Linked DNA regions of Homo sapiens: all the other regions are linked to region 2. Evidence: promoter capture Hi-C in 16 types of primary human blood cells and fetal thymus (Javierre and others, 2016). All regions are on one chromosome and are shown on one strand. Each heading gives the region's core, a stretch centred on a gene start or on the middle of the fragment in contact. The rest is flanking DNA. Distances are from core to core; before and after follow the strand shown.

Region 1 (3,012 bases), core at 118-2,617, 640 kb before region 2:
GAAGAATGGTGATCTCCAAGAAACAGGAAATAAATGATGTGAGCCAATGATTGCCCCAGTATACTATTTGGAGGAAGTTTTTTCAGGTCACAGGGCAGGGAAGAGGCACCTTTGTGGAGGTATCCTGGAACTGAGGAGACAGCTGAGAGTCTGGAGAGTAAGGTGGCTAGAGTGCCTAGGGCAGAGCACCAAAGACATGAGAGCTGCCCTGGGAAAACTTGAAGACCTACAGAAGGTCCCCCTCAAACATTCAGCTAAGTGCTGATCAGTGCATGTGTGTGGGAGAATGCCCAAGGTCAGGGGAAGAACCACTAAATTAACGTGAGGAAACAATCATCAGAGCTCACATAGTGCTAGAAAGGGTGAAAACTTGTGAATCTGTCTTCTGGGAATGTCAGGCTCTGTGACAGTCACACAGAGGTCAGTCTCTGCATACCCAAGACTTAAAAACATCTGTGAAATTGAACCGCTAACTCAGCAAGTGTTTCAGCAGGTGAGTCAACTATGTACCAAGCACTTGGAGCCATTAATAACACCCTACCAACCTGACTCAAAGTGTTGCTCAGGAAAAGTCTCTCTTAAGTGGGAACACCTCCCATGCTCATCAAATGCCACCATCCCCCAAAAGCTTCCTCCACACCAGCCATCTTTCTGGGTACTCCTCCTAGCTTGCCACCCCTAAGCCCTGGGACTTTTCCTTCCTGCTCTTTCCCATCAATACTGCCCTGTCTCATTCCTTCAGGACCTGGCCCCTCTGCTACTCAAAGTGGCAGCAAGCCTTCTCATAGCCTAACCAGCGCAAATGAGTGAGAAGCTGAGAGTTAAAGTGATTTCACCCAGTCACTCTCCTTCTCAGTGCAATGCGTTATGTAGTAGCAGTAGGGGTTTTCAGGAAATGCATGATCTCAACACGGAATAGCTGCCGTGTGGACATTGCTGGTATGCTAGCAAACAGAGTGAGGAAGAGTTTGGAGCAAGCAGGCATGACCATGCCCCCTTAAATCCCATCAAAGACAAAGTGACATTTTTCTCCACACATAATCCACCCCTGGGAAGATGCAGGACAGAGTCACAGAGCATTTCACATGTGTTAGGGGAATGTCCTATGTGTTTGGGGAAAACAAAAGGAAGATAGGAAGGAGGAAAAAATAAAGGAGATTCAGTCAACAAGCACTAGTTGAATATCCTACACATGCCAGGTACTGCTCTAGGTTTTGGGGTTATAGCAGTGAACAAATGGTTTTGTTCCTTTTATACTACCATGGAAATTTCCACCTTGGAGGACACAGAACTTTGAATGTGTCTTTGTAAGAAGTTTCCCAGATAAGTTTGATTGTCAGGCAATTTGAGGAACCACTATTGAAGCAACAGTTGAGATTCTTCTCATTGATCCAAAAAGCAACCTACAATACTCATGGCTGTTGACTTTGGAAAACAGTTTTATTGAATATCAAGGTGCTATCTTTCTTCACACAGTCTACCAAAGGTTTGCTTTGATGTCCTCCTAATCCTTCTCCAAACACTGAGGCCCCTCCCAATCTACTCCATATACTTATGCTTTGTGTATCAGGTCCCACCTGCACCTCTTAGAAAGTACCCCAACTCCCAATTATTTATCAGTCTCTTCACCACATGCCCATCAATTATATTTAGCAATATAATACGTACTGAGGACTTTTGATAAGAGGTATGTTCCTTCTGATTTATACATATTTTCTCATGTCATCCTAAAACTTTATGTAGTGGGTATTATCCTGCAGAAGAGGAAAGTGAGACAGACAGATTATATAACAAGACCATTGTTACTGAGAATGAGGTCATTCTTTATGTATTAACATGACCTTCCATCTTTCTACTGTGCCTCCATCATACTGAATAATACCTTAAGTTTTGAAATTGAGAGGGAGAAGAGGGAGAGAGAGAGAAAAGGAGAGAGACCTAGAGGGAATTGGGGGAAGAGAGGGGGAGAGGCTCTTAAATACAACACCTCTTCCATTTACTTGATATATGAACTTCACCTCTTAAAGCCTCTTTTCCACATCTGCAACAGAGAAATAATGACTCCTACTCTATGTAGGTTGTGGGGTTTAAATGAGGTTATGGATATAAAGCTTCTAAGTACTGCACTTGCTACATGATAAGCTTAAGTATGTGATAATAACAGCCCTATATCCATATACTCTGTTTTTTCTTCAGTTTTTTTTTTTTAAACCAGTATCTGACATTATATTGTGTGCGTGGTAGGTGGGTGTATTATCTCTCTGTCCCACTGTATTTTTTTTTTTTTTGAGACAAAGTCTCACTCTTGTTGCCCAGGCTGGAGTGCAATGGCATGACTTCGACTCAACGCAGCCTCTGCCTCCCAGGTTCAAGTGATTCTCTTGCCTCAGTCTCCCAAGTAACCAGGATTACAGACGTACGCCAACACACCCAGCTAATTTTTGCATTTTTAATAGAGACGGGGTTTCACTATGTTGGCCCAGGCTGATCTTGAACTCCCAACCTCAGGTGATCCACCCGCCTCAGCCTCCCAAAGTACTGGGATTACAGGCATGAGCCACTGCACCGTGCTGTCCCATTGTATATCATAAGCTCCACATGAGAAGGAATTTTGCCACATTTACCTCTGTATCCACAGTGCTTACAATGATGGCTGGCTTCTAGTAGGCACACTTTAAGTATTTGTTGAAGGAATGGTTGTTATGACCATAATCTTCCCTACAGCACCTTACTACAAACATAGTAGTTGCCCTACGAATGCTTTCTATGTGGTTTGCAGTAAATAGAATGCAAAACCCTTATTATCATACTATATTGCCACCCATCTCAGCTAAACTGAATGAATAAATAACCTTCTGGCTGGGGTAACCTATTTGAAGATAGAGGTCACAAAAACAAAGAGGGCATTTAATAAATATTGATTATTCATTACATTGCCTGCTTTCTACCCTGGCCTCTAGGAAAAAAAAAGTTCAGTGAATGTCATTCCTTCTAAGATGTATATTTAAACCT
Region 2 (3,103 bases), core at 125-2,624:
CTCTCTGATTTAAAACCGCTTCCAAGGATAACTTGCTCCATCACAGCAGTGCCCATTCACCTCCATTATGTGCTTCCCTTGATATTTATTTTACTTTTGTGATTGTTTTGGTTGATTAAAAATATATGGAAGACCTGAAAACTACAGAGAACAAACAAATAACCCTGCCAATCCAGAATTCTAAATCCGTGATAATATTCCTCCAAAGTGAGAAATGGAAAGAATTCATTGCCAGTAGACCTGCCCTGTAAGGAACACTAAAAGAAGCCTTTCAGGCAGAAGGAGATTGCTATAGGTCAGAAACTCGGCAGTATGAAAAGAAAGGAAGAATGTCAGAAAAGGAGTAAGCAAAGGTAAAACAAATTCCTTTTTTCCCCCTGTATCTTAATAGAGCTGGAAGATACTATCTGCTTATTGATAAGATCAACTCAAGCAGAGGCTAATCATTCGTTACACGTCCACATGCCCCTGTCCGTATCTTCAGTTTCCGTGGATAGAGCAGCCACTGATGCAAAGCTTTATGGCAGGAAGCTCAGTGGAGAATCAGAATGGAGCAGTCTCCTATCAGGCAACCCCTTACCATCAGAATTCAGCACCAATATGTGCTGGTCAGGTTAGACCTCAGGATTTTACCATATCAGATTATATGATACCTAGTGCCCCAAAGATACCAAAGTCCTGAGATTGGATTTGCAAAATATTTTTGAATAAGCAATTTGTCAACCATCATTATCACACATTGGAACCTCTTCTGGGGCTGCTGTTTATTTCAATACATATATACATACACACCAAATGCACACACAAACCACCCATACGTATGCACCACATACATACATACAACATAAACACATGGTACAAACTCCCCTTATGTTCTCCACACATACACTCCAGACACATAGCAAACCAAACATATAAATACGTTACAATACTGCATCCTCAAAACGGAAGTACAAACTACAAACACCACACACATAACCACACACACACATAAATGATGGGCACAGATGCACCAGGCGTACACAGTGTGCCACACACATTACAGACACAGCACACCACAGCTATACAAGCATCACACACTGTACAACACATACTTCTCTTTCCTTGTGTCCCTGTGAACCTCACACTGATTGCTAAAAATATGTTCTTTTTTCTCTTGTGAAAAGCCTCAGAAGATAGGGCATATTCCACCCCTCCCCACATTTTCCCCTATTGCTAAGTACTTTCAATAATATCTTTGCCAGGGAATGCCCCCTTACGGCCCTCTGGGGAATCAACTGATTGCTCATTTCATTTAATGAGCCCCGTAGACTAACCTGATTCGGGACAAAAAAGTGATTTCTTCTTCCGCTGTGAAGACTTTTCTCTCAACTTTACACAATATTGACTTTCTAGGATTACCAAGTTTAGCCCCATAAATCATTCACCAAATCTTTTGACATCACTGTGTCGAAGTTAAAAGCTTAATTTTTAACTTTACTGTTACCTTTTCCTTAAAGCTTCAGGGAAGGTGTGTGGGTCAAAATCATCCAGTGGACCAGAAACTGGGAATCTGCCAGTAATTTCATGGCATAATAAGCAGACACCCTTAGTCTCTCTCCCTGCCCAGGAGGTAGAGCTTGCCTGCCATAAGTGCTCTCAAGATTTCTCTATTAAGGATGGCTCTGAGTATACAATGCTGTTCTCACAGGAATGTTGTGGCTTTCTAAATGCCCCATAAATGCCATATTAAATTTTTACTCTTAATTCCCTTCCTTCCTTTCTTCCTCCTTTTCTTCCTTTTTTCTTTCTTTCTTCCTTCTCTTTCCCTTCTTCCTTCTCCCTCCTTCCTTGCTTTCCCTCCTTCCCTCACCCTGTCTCCTCCACACTCCTCTCTAAACAGTACATCTGTTTGACATTCAGCATACTCAGAAAGAGGTACATTTTATTGAGGCATGTCCTCTGGAAGGTGTGGCTTCTCTCATGGCTCTTCCTGCAATTACTGTAGGTTCTGGTTCATCCACTTGGTTATAGCAATATCCAGAAACATTAAAAAAAAAACATAGAGAGACAGGATCTCACACTGTCACCCAGGCTGGAGTGCTATGGTGCAATTATAGCTCAGTGCAGACTTGAACTCCTGAGCTCAAGGGATCCTTCCACTTCAGCCCCAAGTAGCTGGGATTACAGGTATGCAACACTGTACCCAGCTAATTGGTAGAGACAGGGTCTTGCTGTGTTGCCCAGGTTGATATCAAACTTCCTGCCACAAGCAATCCTTGTGCCTTGGCCTCCCAAGTGTTGGAATGACAGGCGTGAGCCGTCGTGCCTGGCCCCTAATACTTTTAACTTAGAACTCTTTGAAGGTAATCTACTAATTACTTAAAAATATCCAAGCACTAAAATCAGTGATTTTGCATTATAGGTAATTTATTTCATGCTTAACAAGTTTTTTTTTAATTTTTATCATGCTTTTAAAGTGCTCATTAAATGTTTGGCACATAGCAGATGCTCTGTAAATTCAACCAGTTATTTTTTTCCTCTAAAGAAATGTTGTAAATCTTTAACCCCTTTGCCCAGGAGACTTTGATGTTGTTATTCAGTTAGATTTTTTCTTTTTCAAAAGTCCAGATTCTGCTGGTCCTCTTCTGTGTGTTGCAGAATGTTTGTACTGTCCTGTTTCATGCTGGGCAATTTCTGGCATTTTCTGAAAGAGGAGCCCTTTTAGTGATTGAAACCCCTAGGTCAGCAGTTGTTCAAAGTCCATGTGTTAAATAATAACACTCCCATCTGCCATCAGTATCCCAGTTCTGGATACTGATTACCTGAAGGAGAACCATCTTTCTGTTTGCTGGCCCCAAAGCTTTCTGCTGCTCTGTGAGATTCTTTGAAATTGTTTCTTTTGGATTCTGTGTTTTATGTATTAAATTTTTAAATTTATCATTTTATTATGGAAATGTTTAAGCATACAAAAAAGTAGATCAGTTTAAGATAACTGTGTACATATTCACCCACTTCAATAATTATCAATATTTGGCCATTTGAGTTTTCATTTGGCCTTTTGAATGTTATCAACAACATTCAATGGTTGTTTTTTGTAGCATTTTAAAGCAGATCTCAGACA
Region 3 (3,401 bases), core at 635-3,134, 610 kb before region 2:
AGGAGCCATCACTCCATATGCTTGTGGCTGACCCACTGGGAATCCTTAACAGAGCCTGGCACTCCACCCACACTGCCCTAGGTATGCCTCCAGAGCCATGCACAGATATTCACCTACTTTCCCTCCCTTGGTATCAGCAAGACCTTGCTAATATTACAGAGCACATCTCTAGTAGTGTTCAGGGAAATATTCTGGCTTAATGAAGTCCCAGGCTGTAAATAACATTTGTAGGAACAGTTGCAACTTTGAAGAACCGCTATAAGGGCTAAGGAAGGACACTCTACATTGCATTCAAGGGTCTCTGTGTCTCCCCTTAGTGGGCAAGGAAGCTGCCATTTTTCCTCCTCTAGAGCAAGTCTTATCTTCTCATCCTTCTAGTGAGGCCACTGGGCCTCTTATTCGAGATTCTTTCTTTTCTCTTTTTCTTCTCTGTCATCCCAATTAGCTTTCAGAGTGTCTATGATAAAAAAGAAAAAGACAATCTACAATTCAAAAAATTAAAAATTATACTAGAGTTTATGCCTGTAAGTGATCTTTTGATAATAAAACATGTAGGATTTTAAAATTTTGATACTCAATTTTTACAAAAACAAAACTGAAATGTACACCACTGTTTCACAGAGGATATCTTATAAGAGAATTAGAATGGCTGAATCTGAACTTGGCTTCCATAGCTTCTCACATCCAGAAATTCCAAATAAATAAAGTAACTCAAACAACGGCAGTCTGACAACTCCTATCAGACCTGGAGGACACAGGGACCCATCTTCCATGTGTTAAAGGGTGAGGAAGAAAGTAAAATAGGAAAACAAAAAAAGTATGCTTTATCCAAGGGCCTATGTCTTCCCCAAATGACTTTACATTCAGAATCTCTTTGCCTAACTCTCCCCAATTTGAGAGGTATTTTTCTTCAAAATCCTGATCCTGCTTTCATTCCATTCCCTGTTTAGTATAAATTCCTGGCTAAACACACTTGGTCTCAGAGAACCATGTCAAAGGTTACTAAGGTCAAAAAAGCTTTTCTTATTTTCTGACAGTCCCTGAGGTCCTGAGAGAATGCATTCTTCTTTTGTTTGGCTGGTAAATAGGAAGTTCTGCATTTTACTTTCCCCAACAAGGAAGCAAATATTTTCTTATTGTCTTATTCTGTGGCTGTATTAAAGAAAAAAATCAGCATTTCCAGAGCTCTATGCTAACAGGCCACTGGGTGGCAGTCCTGAGCTGTAATGCAGAAGAGAAGAGTCAGGAAAAACCTGTAAACCAGAGCGGGAGATATAATAATGTTCAGGAGATAACAACGTCATCAAAGATCAACTACTTTCCACCAATAGAGCCTAATTAAATGAAAGGAATCATACCAGGAAAAAATGGAGGTAGTATCATACGTTTAAATTAAAACTGCCCAAGACGCTTAGATAAAATTGGCAGAAAAGCATCCCTCCTTCCACTTTCATTATCACCAAGGTAACATGGTCCAGAGTGGAGCTGAATGTCAACCCAGTGCTAATGGGCAGGCTTCTTCCTACTCAATTTTCCCTTTTTCACCAGGACTTCAGAATAAAGCACTAGAACTCACACTGTCCTGCTCTGCAAGCTCCAACCCCAGATTAATCCTGAAATCCCCCTTCTCTGCTTCTATATCTTAGTGATTTGGGGCTTCTAGAGAGAAGTACAACCGTGGGAACTGGTATCTTCACAAAGGTATACTTTCCGATTTCAGAAGAATACTCCATTCATCTTGTCAATACTTCTCCTTATCTAAAAACAGCATCTCTCCCCTCATCCCTTCTCCTTCCCTCACTCCTCTCTATAGCGAGAATCTCATACCTTCAGTTCTGTCCATCCCCTGTCAGCAAGTGATCTTGCCCCCACAGAGACTACTGAGCCCACAAACCCTCAAATCTTCACTCTTCCATCCCACCCCCATACACATCCTGCCCCCATACAGGTTTATCTTCATTTTCACTCATTCTTGCTTCCTGTCCCACCAATCACAAGAAATAGAACAGCTGCCCTCCTCTCCCCTCCAGGTGTCTCCCAGCATTTCACCACATGCATCAATTTCTGTGTCTACATAAACTGTTTGCCCCGCCCCCACCCCCGAATGCTAATATGACAAGAGGACATATTAGAGGAGAATCGAATTCTCTTAGCAAATGGCATGAAAATTCCTTTTGGAGATTTCTTAGAAAAATTCATGGATAAGCCCATTGAGGTTGAAGGCGAGACCTTGACTCTGGGTTGATCACTCAGTTCTAGACAAGAAAAGTAATTCCTTGCTCTAAAGGAGGAGGAAGTTGGGAAAAACGGAGGAGGAGCCAGCAGGATGGCAGAGGGCAGTGTGGTTGGGCGTATAACCCCTCTCCAGGAGCACCTCCAAACTACCTTAAAGTTCCTTGTTAAATTGTTAACTCAATAGATTACCATTAACATGAGTGTTTGTGTAGAAACTGGCGAGAAGGCTGAGATTCGCACTGTGGTGCCACAAGATGGATCTGAAACCACAGGTACAGATGTGGCAGGGGACACAAAGAGAAGCATGAGGGAGCAAGCCTCAGAAATTTAGGGAAATCATAAAAGGAATCTTGGACTGTGGCTTTGGACCAGGTTTACAAAGATGGACCAACATCTCACAGAGCCAGGGAGGCCCCAGCTGACATTGGCTTGCTCTAGCTTCTCCCATCCTAAACAAAAGCCTCTCTACCCTGAGCCCTTTTTCACTTTCTCCTTCTGTCATCATCCAACTCTCTCAGAAGCTTGGTCTGTACTTGTGGCAGCTTCAGCACCTCCCAATAATTTCTCAAACTTCTGCTGACTGTTCTCACCAAGGTCATCAATGATGTCCTCATGAGGAACATTCTCAGTCCTTGTCTCACAGAACAGTTCTTCTTCATTAGGCACCACTGATAACTTTCATCTTATCTCTCCTTGGGTCTCTGACCTTTCCAGTTGCCTTCACCATGGGCTGCTCCTCTTCTTTCTGCTGCTTAAATGTCAGTGTTAGGGATTGAGGAGGTGCATTTCCAACCAGCATCTGAAAGACTTATGATGTTCACCAAACTAGGGTTAACAAGCCTGTGAGTTGAATTTGACTACAATTGAGTCAAACTGAATGGTGCAATCAGAGTGTGAATGAAGGAAAATAAAGAAACCAAGGGAGGAAACATTATAAATGGCAGGGAAGGGAGGCCAAGAATGTTCTTGAGAATATTAAGAATATTCTGAGAATAAAAGAAACAAGCTGGGTATGGTGGCTCACACCAGCAATCCTAGCACTTTAGGGAGCTGAGGCAGAAGAATTGCTTGAGCCCAGGAGTTCAAGACCAGCCTGGGCAAAATAGCGAAATCTTGTCTCCACTAAAAATACAAGAAATTAGCTAGGCATGGTGGTGTGCATCTGT

Evidence for each region. Contacts are between HindIII fragments. The CHiCAGO score rates a contact against its expected background, and 5 or more counts as called.
Region 1: a contact is called between a fragment that was not itself captured here and the fragment with the promoter of SLC17A1 in region 2, in 1 of 17 cell types (M1 macrophages). The highest score is 5.8, in M1 macrophages.
Region 3: a fragment that was not itself captured here is called in contact with the fragment with the promoter of SLC17A1 in region 2 in 4 of 17 cell types (megakaryocytes, M1 macrophages, M2 macrophages and 1 more); the score reaches 7.5 in megakaryocytes.

The regions. Positions count from the first base shown.
Region 1 is chr6:25,186,618-25,189,629 of GRCh38, forward strand. No RefSeq gene overlaps it. Among named protein-coding and RNA genes, the nearest start is that of CARMIL1, 91 kb to the right of the region's middle. The HindIII fragment of the contact is 1,483 bases long and covers 627-2,109 here.
Region 2 is chr6:25,830,678-25,833,780 of GRCh38, forward strand. It overlaps SLC17A1 (solute carrier family 17 member 1), which reads right to left and starts at 1,375. Exons shown (of 13, transcript NM_005074.5): 1 at 1,317-1,375. The HindIII fragment of the contact is 946 bases long and covers 515-1,460 here.
Region 3 is chr6:25,222,450-25,225,850 of GRCh38, forward strand. No RefSeq gene overlaps it. Among named protein-coding and RNA genes, the nearest start is that of CARMIL1, 55 kb to the right of the region's middle. The HindIII fragment of the contact is 1,739 bases long and covers 1,016-2,754 here.